2 separate regions of the Homo sapiens genome follow, and region 2 is linked to region 1. Evidence: promoter capture Hi-C in human tissues and cell types (Jung and others, 2019). All regions are on one chromosome and are shown on one strand. The core of a region is centred on a gene start or on the middle of the fragment in contact, and the rest is flanking DNA. Distances in the headings are between cores, read along the strand shown.

Evidence for each region. The method cuts DNA at HindIII sites, captures the fragments that hold promoters and counts their contacts. A contact is called where the count stands out against the background at its distance.
Region 2: a contact is called between a fragment that was not itself captured here and the fragment with the promoter of TFCP2L1 in region 1, in 1 of the 25 tissues and cell types used here (aorta).

What each region holds. Positions count from the first base shown.
Region 1 is chr2:121,282,489-121,289,008 of GRCh38, reverse strand. TFCP2L1 (transcription factor CP2 like 1) reads left to right here and starts at 3,807. Exons shown (of 15, transcript NM_014553.3): 1 at 3,807-3,961. The coding sequence starts at 3,900. RefSeq lists a silencer at 3,642-3,781. The HindIII fragment of the contact is 14,413 bases long and covers 1,389-6,520 here.
Region 2 is chr2:121,233,225-121,239,744 of GRCh38, reverse strand. TFCP2L1 (transcription factor CP2 like 1) reads left to right here. Exons shown (of 15, transcript NM_014553.3): 8 at 96-187; 9 at 1,895-1,943; 10 at 2,029-2,122; 11 at 4,434-4,524; 12 at 5,551-5,654. Among named protein-coding and RNA genes, the nearest start is that of TFCP2L1, 49 kb to the left of the region's middle. The HindIII fragment of the contact is 6,690 bases long and covers 1-5,868 here.

The sequences.
Region 1 (6,520 bases), core at 2,558-5,057:
GAGCAGCTGGGAATCCCTTGTGGGGCTGCTAAGGGGGTGACACCTGAGTACTCAGTGGGCCCCTTTCTGCTGCCTCTGCAGGGACCCCGGGCTGATCCTGGGAGCAGAGGACATCTGGTCACAGCACCTTTGCCCAGTGTGGGGTGAAGAAAGGAATGCCGGGCCTTAAGACAGGAATGGATGAGAGTCGGAGTATGGTTGTTGAATTTACAGGCCTGGCCTCAAATCCCAGCTGTGGCAGTCAGCCTCCCAAGCCTGTTTCTTCAATCAGAAGGTCAGGTGATGTCTCTTCTTCTCAGTGTCGGGAGATGACAGTGCATGGCTCTGGGTCTGGTGCATAGTAAAAATCAATGTTCCCACCACATGGGAACTGTGAACATTCACAGAATAAAAGAGGAACTGGCAGGCCATCTCCTGCACATCTGTCTCCTCCTCCTCAGCAGCCTGGAAGCCCCAGGGGTCCAGACTAGGCCTAATTGGGCCCTGTAACACCCAAGAGTCATGGGCAGAAATATGCATTTTTGTTCACACAGTGTGACTCAAATGCTGTCTCTGTAGGCATTGCTGAATTCTACCCTCCCATAGTTAAAAACCTACAAAGAGAGAGAAAGTAGGCAATGACCCAAAATACAGAGAGTCATACTTAGGTCATGAGAGCCATCATCCCTGAGAAGCTAAACTCACCTGAACCTAAGCTTCACCACAACCATGAAATGAGCCCTTATTATTCCCAATAGCAAAACCCAGATCCACAGGGCCCAGCGTATCATTTTTCCATTTGTATGAAACAAACCAGCCCACACCTCAGTGGCGTAAGGCCACAGCCATCCATTTGCTCTCGAGCCTGCATTTTGGGCAGGGCTTGGGTGGGCAGGGCTTGCCTCAGTTCTATGAGGTGTGGTTGGAGGCAATCCCCTGGGGCATCTTAGATGGGCTCTGCGGAGTGGCCAGAGGGATTGGAGGCTGACCAGGTCTCCCTCTCCAATGGGGCATTTGGACTCTACCTGGTGGCTCAGAGCTCTGGGAGAGTTAAGAGAAGCTGCCTATCATGCTTGTAATCCCAGCACTTTGGGAGGCTGAGGTGGGTGGATCACCTGAAGGTCAGGAGTTCTAGACCAGCCTGGCCAACATGGTGAAACCCCGTCTCTAATTGAAATATAAAAAATTAGCTGGGTGTGGTGGCAGGCACCTGTAATCCCAGCTACTCAGGAGGCAGAGGCAGGAATATCGCTTGAACCCAGGAGGCAGAGCTTGCGGTGAGCTGAGATCCTGCCATTGCACTCCAGTCTGGGCAACAAGAAACTTCGTCTCAAAAAAAAAAAAAAAAAAAAGAGAAGCTGCCTAGGGGCCAGCCCAGAAGGGAAAAGCATTACTTCCTCTGCATTCTATGGTTAAAGTAAGTCACAGGGTCAGCCCAGGCGGAAGGGGGAGGGGAGGGAAACAGACACCACCTCTTGATGGGAGAAGCAGCATGAGGTCAATTTACTCCACCCAAGGTCATAGATTCAGATGGAGCTAAGTAGTAAACCCAGGTCTGAACCATCTAATAATATTGACTGCCCTTCCTCCAGGCCTTTGCAGGAGCGTCTACTGGGCCGGAAACCTCCCTCCATCTCCACAGATTGGTTTCACTTCCACTCACCCATCCATCAGGAGATATCACTTCATGCTGGAGCCTCTTCGGAGCTCCAGAGTCCTCCTCTGTGTTCCCAGGGCAGCCTCTACGTCCCTGACCACACTGTACTGTCACTGCTGCTTACCCATGGACCTCTCCTGTTAGAACTCAAGGACGAGTCCAGCAAAGGACATGTTCTTTCCAGACCACCCCAGAGTGTCTCCCATTTAAACAATGGGTTTGTCATGGACCCTGATGGGGTGAGGTTGGTTGTGGGGGTCGGTGTTCAGGATGTTTCTTTGGAAGTTCCCTTAAGAGTAACCCCTGGGCAAGGAACTGGAAGGAAGCAGGAGGGAGACCCTGAGCAGGACACAGGTCTTGTGACAGCTTTGACTGTCTTCATGGGGAGTCCTGGGGCTAAAATACCCCATCAGCACTGTCCCCAGTCAGGCAGAGATGGCCAAGCTTTTATACTTCTGCTGGGATAGTCATTGGGATGTGGGCTATCCCAGGAGGGACATGACAGAGGGCAAGGCTGCTCTCTGAGCAGGGGCAGTTCCTGGAGAAGCCGATGGCTGGGGGACTGTCTGCTGACAGCACCACCTGAAGCCGGGGAAATATTCCCATTCTCCTAACAGGGCAGAACAGTGGGGGGCAGTCCTTGAGGGCTGCACAGAGGAAGTGGTTTGCCAGTTGTGACCTATGGCTGGAGGGAGGAGGGCAGGAACAGCAGAGTGAGGGAGGGTTTTACCCACATCCATGCGTGGGGGAGTGGGGAGTTCTGGACCAGGTCCCCAAGGGATGTCATTTGACTGGATTAATACTCAGGGACAGAATCCCCATCTCCTCTGTGCCAGGTGCTGTGCCATGTACTGGAGAACCGGATAGCACCTGGATAGGGGTCAGGGCTCCAGGGAACTCCACTCCCTCCTAATGGCCCTCCCCTCCACCCCATGACCCACTGTCTACACTGCTGCCAGACTGATCTTTCCAAAAGGCAAATCATACATGTGACTCCTCTGCTTAAAACACAGAATAAAATCCTAGCTCCTTGTCCTGGCCTGCCAGGCCCTCTGATCTTCCCCGCCCTCCTCACCTCATCTCCTAAGCTCTCCTCAAGACCAGCCATGCCAAGTAGGTCTTCCTCAAGGCTTTGGCAGTCACTGTTGCCAAGGGGGTAGGGAACTATGCCTGGAACTATTTTTCCCTAGGTGATGTTCACAGAGATGCTTCCTTTGCATCCATCAGGTCTCAGCTCAATGTCACCTCCTCCAGGAAGGCTTCTCTGATTACTCTTTTGGTGCATTCCTTTTTTCTTTTTTTATGTTTACTCAACAAACATTTATCTTAACTATGTCCCATGCACTGTTCTAGGCAGTGCAGGTAACGGGGTGTTAAGCGAGCCAGGCCCTGTCCTCTTGGAGCTTACAGTCTAATGGGAAAGACAATCAGTACACAAGTAAAAATAAAAAATAAAAAAATGTCGGCCTGACTCGGGGGCTCACGCCTGTAATGCCAGCACTTTGGGAGGCCAAGGTGGGCGGATCACCTGAGGTCAGGAGTTCGAGACCAGCCTGGCCAACATGGCGAAACCCCGTCTCTACTAACAATAAAAAAATCAGTCAGGCGTGATGGGGGGCGCTTGTAATCCCAGCTACTCAGGAGGCTGAGGTAGGAGAATTGCTTGAACCTGGGAGGAGAGGTTGCAGTGAGCCCCGAGATCGCGCCACTGCACTCCAGCCTGGGTGGCAGAGCGAGACCCCGTCTCAAAAAAAAAAAAACCAACAAAAAAACCCCCATGATTTCAGAGCGTCTGAAGTGCTATGAAAAAACAAGAGCGAGGAAAGGCGACAGAGAGGGCCTAGGCTGGAAATCTCGGAGCCGCTCTGGAGACCGGCCCTGGGCGTAGAGTGGGGAGCAGAGGCCAGAGGGGCCGTGTGGAGCGGGTTGGGGGCGGCAAGGGTCACCTGAGCCCCACATCGGAGTTTGGGGAGAGCACCCGGCCGGCCCTAGAGCCCTCTGGTCTGGCCGCCCCGGAGGCGCGCTCGCTCGCCGGAAAGGCACGCGCGGGAGTCAGCCAGGTGCGGCTGCCGCGGGGAGCCGCCCTCCGGGCCGCGCTTCCTGGGGGGCGGGTCTCACCGCTGTCCCGCCCCTGGGCCGCCGATAAATGCGCCGAGCCGGCCGGCACCGCGGGTTCGGAGCGCGAAGCCGCCGCTGGGTCCTCGGCGCGCCCCGCGTCTGCGCTTGCTGCCGCGCCCCGGTCGGCGCGCTGGGAGTTCCAGCCATGCTCTTCTGGCACACGCAGCCCGAGCACTACAACCAGCACAACTCCGGCAGCTACCTGCGGTAAGGGCCGCGCGCGGTCCCCGCGGGTCTCGGGCCGGGCCGGCGGGCCGGGCGCCGTTGGACGTCCAGGGGCGGAGAGGGGGCGCCCCTGCTGGGCCCTGGCCTCCCCGCTGTCCGCCCTCTGGGGACTGAGAGACCCGCCCAGCGTCCCGCCTAGGGACTGACAGATGGACGCCGGCGGGACCCGACGTGCGGAGTTGGGGGCCCGCTGGGGAGGCGAGCGCGCAGAGCCCTATGTCTGCGAGGGCTCCTCCCAGGCGGCAGAGAGGGTGCAGGGCGCGCACCTGCCGGCCCGCCGCCTCCCCTGGCCCGTCCGCCCCCTGCGGCCCTCCTCTCCCCCGCGTATCGGAGAAGCAGAGGAAACTTCCTGCCAGCAGCCTGGTGCCCGGCCCGGGGAAGTTCGTCCCCTGCTCTTTGCCCGTCTCCGCCGGGGCCCCTCTCCCAGCCTCGCGCCCTCTGCAGTGCCCTTCCTTGGACGAGGGGCGGGCGGCGGGCTCGGAGGGGCAGGCCGCCCCACTTCCCGCGATGGTCTTGCGCGTGTTCGCCCGAGGCCCGCGTGGTTATTGCCCTTGATGGAAATCTTTCTTCTGCTGGAGGGATTTGAGTAGTGCCCTTCAGAGGGGAAAGTAAGTCCTGCGTGTTTTGCACAGTTCCCCACAGGCCCCTCTTAGCAGTAGGACCCCGTGTGCTCTCGCTCCCGGAGGATTGTTTTTCCCTGTTCTGCTGCTGGCCGGGACTAATGGGCAGTCATTTCACTTTGTGAACTCGCCTGAACCAGCTTTAGCCTGTCCTTATTTCCATCTTAGTCACAGTTTATGAAATGTGCCTAATTTAACCCAAAGGGCATTTGATATGGGCTCAAGGAAAATGAATGATGAGGCCGAAGGAGTCACAGGCATTGACAGCCCCCATACTAGAGCTACCTTTAAGTGCTAGTTTTGGCCCCAAGAAGTTCCCACTTAGATCTTAAAACGTTATTTGTAATTCCTGGCTGCTGGTAGGTATTTGTCCTCCCTGAAGACATCCCCTTTTCCTGGAGGCGGGGGAATGATTGGGTTTAGTGGATGTATCTGCTGTTTTTATTCATGGGCCAAAGTAGTCGGAGATGGCAAAGGTCTAGAGCCTTAAAGGCTGACAGCCACCCGGCAGACCACGGTGATGTCACCAGAGGGAAGCCCAGGAGGAGATGTTAATCACCCAGAGATTAAGTGTCCATTCACTTGCAAGAAATGCTACAATGGAATACATTTTTACTGTACTGAAGTTTTAGTTGTAGCTTTGGCTAAGTTTTAGTTTGCTGCCATTAAGTATGTTGCCATATCTTAACAATGAGTTTGAAGGTGACCCTGAGTTGAAGGTGAGTGTACTTGAAACTTCCTAGATACCTACAATGTCCTCACCCCGTTAGGGAACAATTCTCCCTTGCCTGGGAGGTACAGTTCTGACATCTGCTACCGAGATGGAAGTTTGTCTGGAGTAGCTCAGGTACCTTTTAGGATTTGGTGAAAGGAGGAGGGTGAGCGTTGGGAGTGGGTGGTGCTGTAAAGCCATATTGGCTTCTGGGGTCATCGGGGGACCATGGATAAAGAAGTCCTTGCCCTTTTTTATTTCACTTCTTGGAAGCTGGGAGTTTTGCCCTCAGTGAGGGCCAAGGTGGCGGTTTGTGCATATGCCCCTGGTCCCCTGACTCTAGAGGGAGGGTCTGGTCCTTTTCCTTGCGTTTTTTGTATTTTATTTTTGGTCGTCTCCTCACTTGGCAGAACTTCTGCAAGCTGTCTGACCTCACCAGGGTAGAGGCCTTTACTCCCTTCCCCCTTTCTGTTTGATGTTCTCGTGACTTTTATTCCTTGGCAAATAAAGATGCCAGGCTTGAAACAAGTTACTGTTGAGGGATGGTTCTTAACTTCCTCTGCCCACCCGCCCCTGTTTAAAAAATTTAAAGGCAGCAGTCCGTGGATTATTAACTTGACATGGTCTGGGCAAACATGAAATTATGCAATCCTCAGTGTTCCTAGAGAACCACCCGGGCTGGGAGTGTGCCCTGCTCTGACAAAAGGAAGACGCCCTGTGGGGGAAAGTCGAGACGGCCTTGCACCCTTATTTTTCGGCAGTGGATGGTGACGGGGGAGGCCCACACAGGGCAGGTTTTCCAGGTGTGTGCTCAATGCCAGGCTTTTTCTTCTCAAAATTGATGAGATGTTGATGGGGTGTGTGCCGGGTTTGTGTTGTAGAGACGCTTGTTTATGATGTGCGAGGAACAGATTGTACCAGTGACTCTGTTTATACAGACAAGTGGGGTCAGCTAATTGGATTCCTAGTCAGGGACCCACGAAGGGAAGAGGGTTATCAAGATAAGAGCACTGGCACTTATTTGGCACTTGTTTATGTGCTGCTCATAATTTAGAGACCTTACACAAGCCTTGCCTGCCTGTAGGTCATTCATGTTCTCAAGGAATTCTTTGTCCCTTGTAAGGGCATTTTTAAAATGCTGGGTTTTTTGTTTCTTTCTTTTTCCTTTTTTTTTTTTTTAGAGATGGTGGGGTCTCACTATGGTGCCCA
Region 2 (6,520 bases), core at 1,274-3,773, 48 kb after region 1:
TGCATTGGTGTCAGTGCATGCCTGCTTGGGAGGACCTGGGGAGCACGGCTCAGCGCCTCTCCAGATCCCAGCTCGCCCTGTGCTCTCTCCTGCAGTGCTCTCCATGGCCCGACGTGGCCTACCAGGTGAACAGCGCCCCGTCCCCAAGCTACAATGGTTCTCCAAACAGCTTTGGCCTCGGCGAAGGGTACGTCCCACCTCTCTTTCTTCGGGTTCCCTGAAATGAAGGCAGGTGTACTTTCCTTTCTTAGTCTTCCTTTCTGGGTCTCCTCTCCTTTCTGTTTGGGTTTCAGGGTAGCTAACTCGTGTTGCAGTCACAACTGTCTTCAGCATTTACACAACTTTTAGTGCTCAGAAACACCCCTGTAAACGTTGTCGGGTGGGACAGCGGCCCAGAACTTACCTGGTGAAACCAGGACTGGCTTGAGGGTGCATGCGGTCAGCCACCCAAGACAGCCTCTGGTGCCCTCTGGGGCAGAATGGCCCTCCTGACAGTGGTGCCTTAGGGAGCAGCTGTCTGGGGGGCCTTTCCTGGTTCTTTGTCCAGCATGGTCACTGAGTGTGGGGGTGAGAGGGTCTGGCTAGGGTCCTCTCTGCCTTGGGTTTCAGGCCTTACAACACAGAAACTGGCTTCATTGCTGTCCCACACAGCTCTGCAGACACACAGGCCACATGGACCCTGAGGATGCTGTGACAGGACAGTCACTCTCCTGAGTGTTGTGGGCTGCACAGCACGGGGCCATGGGTCACCGTGATGGCTCTGCATGCCCTGTGCTGGCAGCAGGGGTGGAGGCAGGAGAGTGGGTGGGAGGCTGCCTGTTTTCTGCTTGCAGGTTCGTCAGAGCCCATGCTTGGCAGACAGAACTTTTCTAATAAGAAAGCGAGATTGTCTGTGAACTTGATTTTACCAAGGAGTCCCCAGGGAAGCGGGGGTAGACACAGAAATGGTGTCATGTTTAGATTCAGGCAGACCTAGTCTTCAATCTGTACCTTTTTGGGGGTAACTCCCTTAACCTCCCTGAGACTCAGTTTCTCTACTACAAAAGGGGGTTAAGAATTCTACACAGGGTCGGGAGGAACAAGTGTACGATGCTTGCACCCTGTAGACACTTGGCGAGAAGTGGCGGCTGTCTTCACTGATGACCGGTCTGGGGATCAGCCCTGCGAGGGTCTCTTTTTCCCATTATGGAGAAATATACATAACACAAAATTTACCATTTTTAAGTGTGCAGTCTGGTGGCATTAAGTACATTCACACTGTTGTGCAGCGTTCACCGCCGTCCACCTGGAGAGCGCTCAGGTCTGTGCCTCATCCCCAACCTGGCCCCCGAGGAAGCTTGTGCACCCCCTCTCGGGAGAGAACAGAACAGTGCTTTTCCTCGTGGATGGATGTCAAGCTGCGGGTGCTTGTTCACTGCAAAATAACTCCCCGTGGGATTCTTATGCCCTCTCCCCTCACCACCTGACAAAGGGTTTGGTGGAGGACCCTTGAGTTTGGTGGTAGCCTTCAGGTGCCAAGGCTCTGGGTGCCCTTGGTCAGCGTGCCTTTCCCTGGGGCTGGGGCTTTGAATCTCCAAGTTCAAGACCAGCAGGGGTCAGCCAGCAGGGGCCTGGGATGTGTTGCCGGTGACTCAGGGTAGAGGAGTGTCATTGACTGGGGCAGTGTAGCCTATCAGAACTTGCTGTCTACAATGAAGGCTCAGTTAGGGATTTTGAGGGATTGGACATTGGCTCCTGCTGTGTTTCTGTGACTCAGGAAATTCTTGAGGACTCATTTCACTTAGAACAAATCCTGCATCTGATAGGAAGTAAAAGTGCCAGGCTGGGTGCCGGGACCGTGGCCATTGCCCTGGGAGCCCCCTCTGTCCTCATCACTGGTTCCTTTTCCTTGCAGCAACGCCTCTCCGACCCACCCGGTGGAGGCCCTGCCCGTGGGCAGTGACGTAAGTGTCTGAGCAGGGCTTTCTGGCTGGTGGTCCCTCGTGGGCCCTGAGCCACCATCTCAAGGCCTCTCCCCTCTGCTCACAGCACCTGCTCCCATCAGCTTCGATCCAGGATGCCCAGCAGTGGCTTCACCGCAACAGGTTCTCGCAGTTCTGCCGGCTCTTTGCCAGCTTCTCAGGTGAGCATCTCCGAACTGTGTTTAAAGCCCATGAGTATCTTGGAGACACTTCAAGGCTGGCCACCTTCCAGGCCTTGCTGTCAACACTGGCAGCGCTGTCGTTTCAGCTGGGAGACCCGAGATAGTGTGGGTTCGCTCGCTCACGTGCCCCAACCCTGGGCCAAGTGCTGGACATAGGTGATGCTGCCCCCAGAAGGTCCCAAGTGAGTGTGACTTGAGGGGGACCATCTGGGTGACTTGGTCAAGATCTCCTCACCTGCGGGGGGTTGGTGGGCTCTGGTCTGTCCAGGAAGAGTCCCCTTAGCCCGGCAGGGTGATGCAGGGCCCCTTATGCTTTTCCTACCCAAATACTGCTCCTCACATTGGCTCCAGAGCCACGACCTGGGAGCTGGAGGTGAGGCCACAGGTGAGACAGAAAGGGGGCTCTTCCTTCTTTAGAAAGTGTCAGAGCCCTTCCTGATGGGCCCTCAGACAGAAGTCCCAAGCTAGGTATTGTGGAGTGCAAAGGTGAACTGAGCAGTGAGCCTTGTCACCAAGTAGAGTTCATCCACAGTGACAGAGTAAAGGCTTGGCCACAACTAGAGGAGCGGATGCCACAGACACCTGTGGCAGTGGAAGAGAAACGACGCCCGCACATCCTCAGCTCGGCATTGCTGAGAGCCTGTTGGGGGAGGGTCCCTGTCCTTGGGAGCTTGTAGCTGTAAGTCAGTACAGATGCATAAACCACTCATTTCGGTGCAGCGTGACTTGTGTGATTGGAGTGGGGGTTCAGAGAGGACCCTGCACTGGACTGGGTGGAGGTGGGGGAGGAGTGCCGGCTGTGTCTTAAGTAGGGCAGTCAGCCACCATGTGGGCACCTGCCTTATGTGGTCACAGAGCAGGGGACCCAGGTGGAGTGGAGTGGAGTGGCCCGGGGAGGAGAGGTCAGAGAGGCACCAAGGGACACGGACAGGATGGGGGCCCTGGAAGAACAGTGGAAGGACTTCGGCTTTTACTCCCAGTGGAAAGGAAGCCATTGTGTCTATAGAATTGTACCTAAAACCGTATCTTATTGTGATGAGAGGAGAGGAGTGGGAATTGTGGCCTTGGGCAGGCTTTCACCTGAGGCTGATATACTAGTACCTTGGAGAGTGTGTGGGACCAGGCTCTCGGGGACCCCTTGGGCTTTGAGGAAGGGGCAGCCCTCACGCTGTGCTCACTTCTGTCCCCATGAGACGGTCACCTTCCTATGTTCCTTTAACTGTGGGCCCGTCCTCACATGCTGCTGGTGGGACCATACATAGATGCAACACTCTGGGAAACTGCTGGCAGTATCTGCTAGAGCCAAACACACCCTGTGATCCCGCAGCCCTCTCCGGGGCTAGACCCGGCAGACACGCACCTTGTGTAATGAACAAAGACATGTATGAGAACGTTCAGAGAGCCTATTCATAACAGCCCAGACCTGAAGCCCCCCCAGCGCCCATCCACATAAAGTGGGTATGTGAATTGTGGTGTAGTCACACAATGATAGGTAATAACGGGCATGAACACTCTGACTACATTCCACACAAATGCACCGTGAAACATGACTTGCGGGGAGGGAAGCCAGACCAGGAAGAGTGCCTACCGTTCAATTCCATGTACAGAAACTTCAGAGAACATGCAAAACGTGTCTGCACTGTAGCAAGTCAGGATAGTGGCTCCCCTGGGTGGGAGTAGGGGTGGTGGCTGGTACGAGGGGCCTACAGGAGGCTGGCAATGTTTCACTGCTGGCTCTGAGTGCTGGGTCCTGGGGTGTATTCAGATTGTCAGCATCCAGCGAGCTGTATACTTCCACATACAGACAGATGCACACATGGCCAGTGCCCTGTGCTGATGACATCTATGCATACAGATTATATGTCAAAAAAAAAAGAGAAGAGGCCAGATGCAGTGACTCATGTCTGTAATCCCAGTACTTTGAGAGGCTGAGGTAGGTGGATTGCTTGAGCCCAGGAGTTCAAGACCAGCCAGGCTAGGCAATATATTGAGACCTTGTCTCTTAAAAAAAAAAAAAAAAAAAAAAAGAAAGAAAGAAAGCAAGCAGGGCAGGCAATGAGGCAGTGGGGACCTATTGGCTTCTGTTGTACTCACTGTTGTGAGCACTGGCACTTCCTGGGCTGCAATCTTTTGATGTTGTTGAGCATTTTGCCATTTTCTCTCTGTGAGATAGTGCAGCTGGCTCTTCCCCACCCCCCACCCCCAGTGCTATGGGGTCTGCAGCTGGTTGGGGACCGAGCCCTTTCTCTGGGTTCCATGTAACAGGCATCCCCGTTTTTTTCCTGCCTAGGTGCTGACTTGCTGAAGATGTCCCGAGATGATTTGGTCCAGATCTGTGGTCCCGCAGATGGGATCCGGCTCTTCAACGCCATCAAAGGCCGGTAGGTGTTGGTTTCTCTGTGAAGCCAGCCAGAGGCTCATGTCCCGTGGCATGTGGTGGGAAACCCCTACCTCAGCCTTTTGGATGGTGGGTGGTCTGGCTGGGGGGACAGGACTCCTGCAGTGTGGGGTCAAGTGTAGGAGGAAATGTGGCAAGAGGGGCACGGGCCACAGCAGGGGAGTGAGACACTGCAGTGGGAGATGTGGCCAGCTGCCGCAGACCCTGCCTGGAGGCCCCTCCCTCTTCTTGGTTGGACGAGAGCCTTGGCCTCTGGATCTCGGCCTCTGAGCCACTTGCCCATGTTCTCAGATGCTTGTGTGGTCCTGGGCTCGGAGCTGCTCCCCCGCTGAGGGGAGCTGTGGACTTGGGGCTGGTCAGATGGTATCATGCAGCAGTTTCAGGGGAGACTCCAGAGCAGCGCCGTCCTGCACACCTTCCTGCCATGGCAGAGACGTTCTGCAGCCGTGCTGGCCACATGTGGCTGTGGAGCACTTGGACCGAGGCTGATGTGATGGACGAAATTTTTATTTAACTTTAGTGAATTTAAGTTTTAATAGCCACACATGGACAGCATGGTTTTAGAGTGAGAGCCTGGGTTTGAGTCCCAGATCTGCCTCTTAGGTGCTGTGCAGTGAAGGGAAAGCCCTTTGCCCTCCGAGCCTCAGTTTGCTCAACTGTGGAATGAGAGCGATAGTCCTAGCTCCCTTGCAAGTTTTGTGAGGATGAAATGAGTTACGCATGTTCTGAGAACAATACCTGATACACAGCAAGCCACAGACAGTGTTTGCTCTAATTGTTGCCTGAAAACGTCTTGTATGTTGAGCTTCATGGTCTGGGGCAGAGTGCCCCTTGGCAGGCTGCGGGACCTGGGAGGGTCATCCACCACCCCATGACAGGCACTCCACGTCACCACCGCTGTCTTTCTTCCTCCCTGAGTTCTGCCCACTATTGTTTCCATCCTGGAATATTCTGAAACAACTGCGCCTGGTCCACCACACCTATTATTTATTTTCTCTTCTCCTGCCAGGAATGTGAGGCCAAAGATGACCATTTATGTCTGTCAGGAGCTGGAGCAGAATCGAGTGCCCCTGCAGCAGAAGCGGGACGGCAGTGGAGACAGCAACCTGTCTGGTGAGTTGTGGGGAGCAGAGCTGGGACCCACACATTGGGTCCCGCAGCCTGGCTTTCAAGCCCGCAGTCTGGCCTCTGTTCATTTCCAGTGAATGTGCAGGACAGTCCTGGGCTCCCACATGCCCACACGTGGAAAGGGCAGCCTAGTGCATGCTCCTTGCATGGTGCATGGTCTGACCTCGTGGCGGCCCCGCAGTGTGGGTGCTGCCTTAGTGCACACCCCGAGGCTTGGGAAGGTGTTGGGATTGTCCCAGATCTTGCTTCCAGTCAGTGGCAGTCAGGATTGGAGGCAGGAATGCCCACCCTGGAGCTTTTTGTTTCCTCAAACTGCTCCTGATGCAGCTCCTGATGAGAGGAGACTCTCGAGGACCTCAGAGGCGTGGCTGTCAGCCTTCCTGCTCCCACCGAGCACTCCCAGTGGCCATGGTGAAAGGCGTCAGCCTGGGATCCTGCTAATTCTTTTTGCTGGCAGCTTGGTTTGTTTTAGGAGCAAAATTGTGGCTGGGTGTGGTGGTTCATACCTGTAATTCCAGCACCTGGGGAGGTGGGAGGATTGCTTGTGCCCAGGAGTTCAAGGCCAGCCTGGGGAATATACCAAGACCAAATCTCTAAATATTGAAAAAGTAGGCTGGGCGCCGTGGCTCATGCCTGTAATCCCAGCACTTTGGGAGGCCAAGGCGGGCAGATCACTTGAGGTCAGGAGTAACCCCATCTCTACTAAAGAAAACATACAAAAATTAGCCATGCATGGTCACACCTGTAATCCCAGCTGAGGCAGGAGAATCATTTGAACCCGGGAGGCGGAGGGAGGTGGAGGTTGCAGTGAGCCGAGATCATGCCACTGCACTCCAGCCTGGGTGACAAAG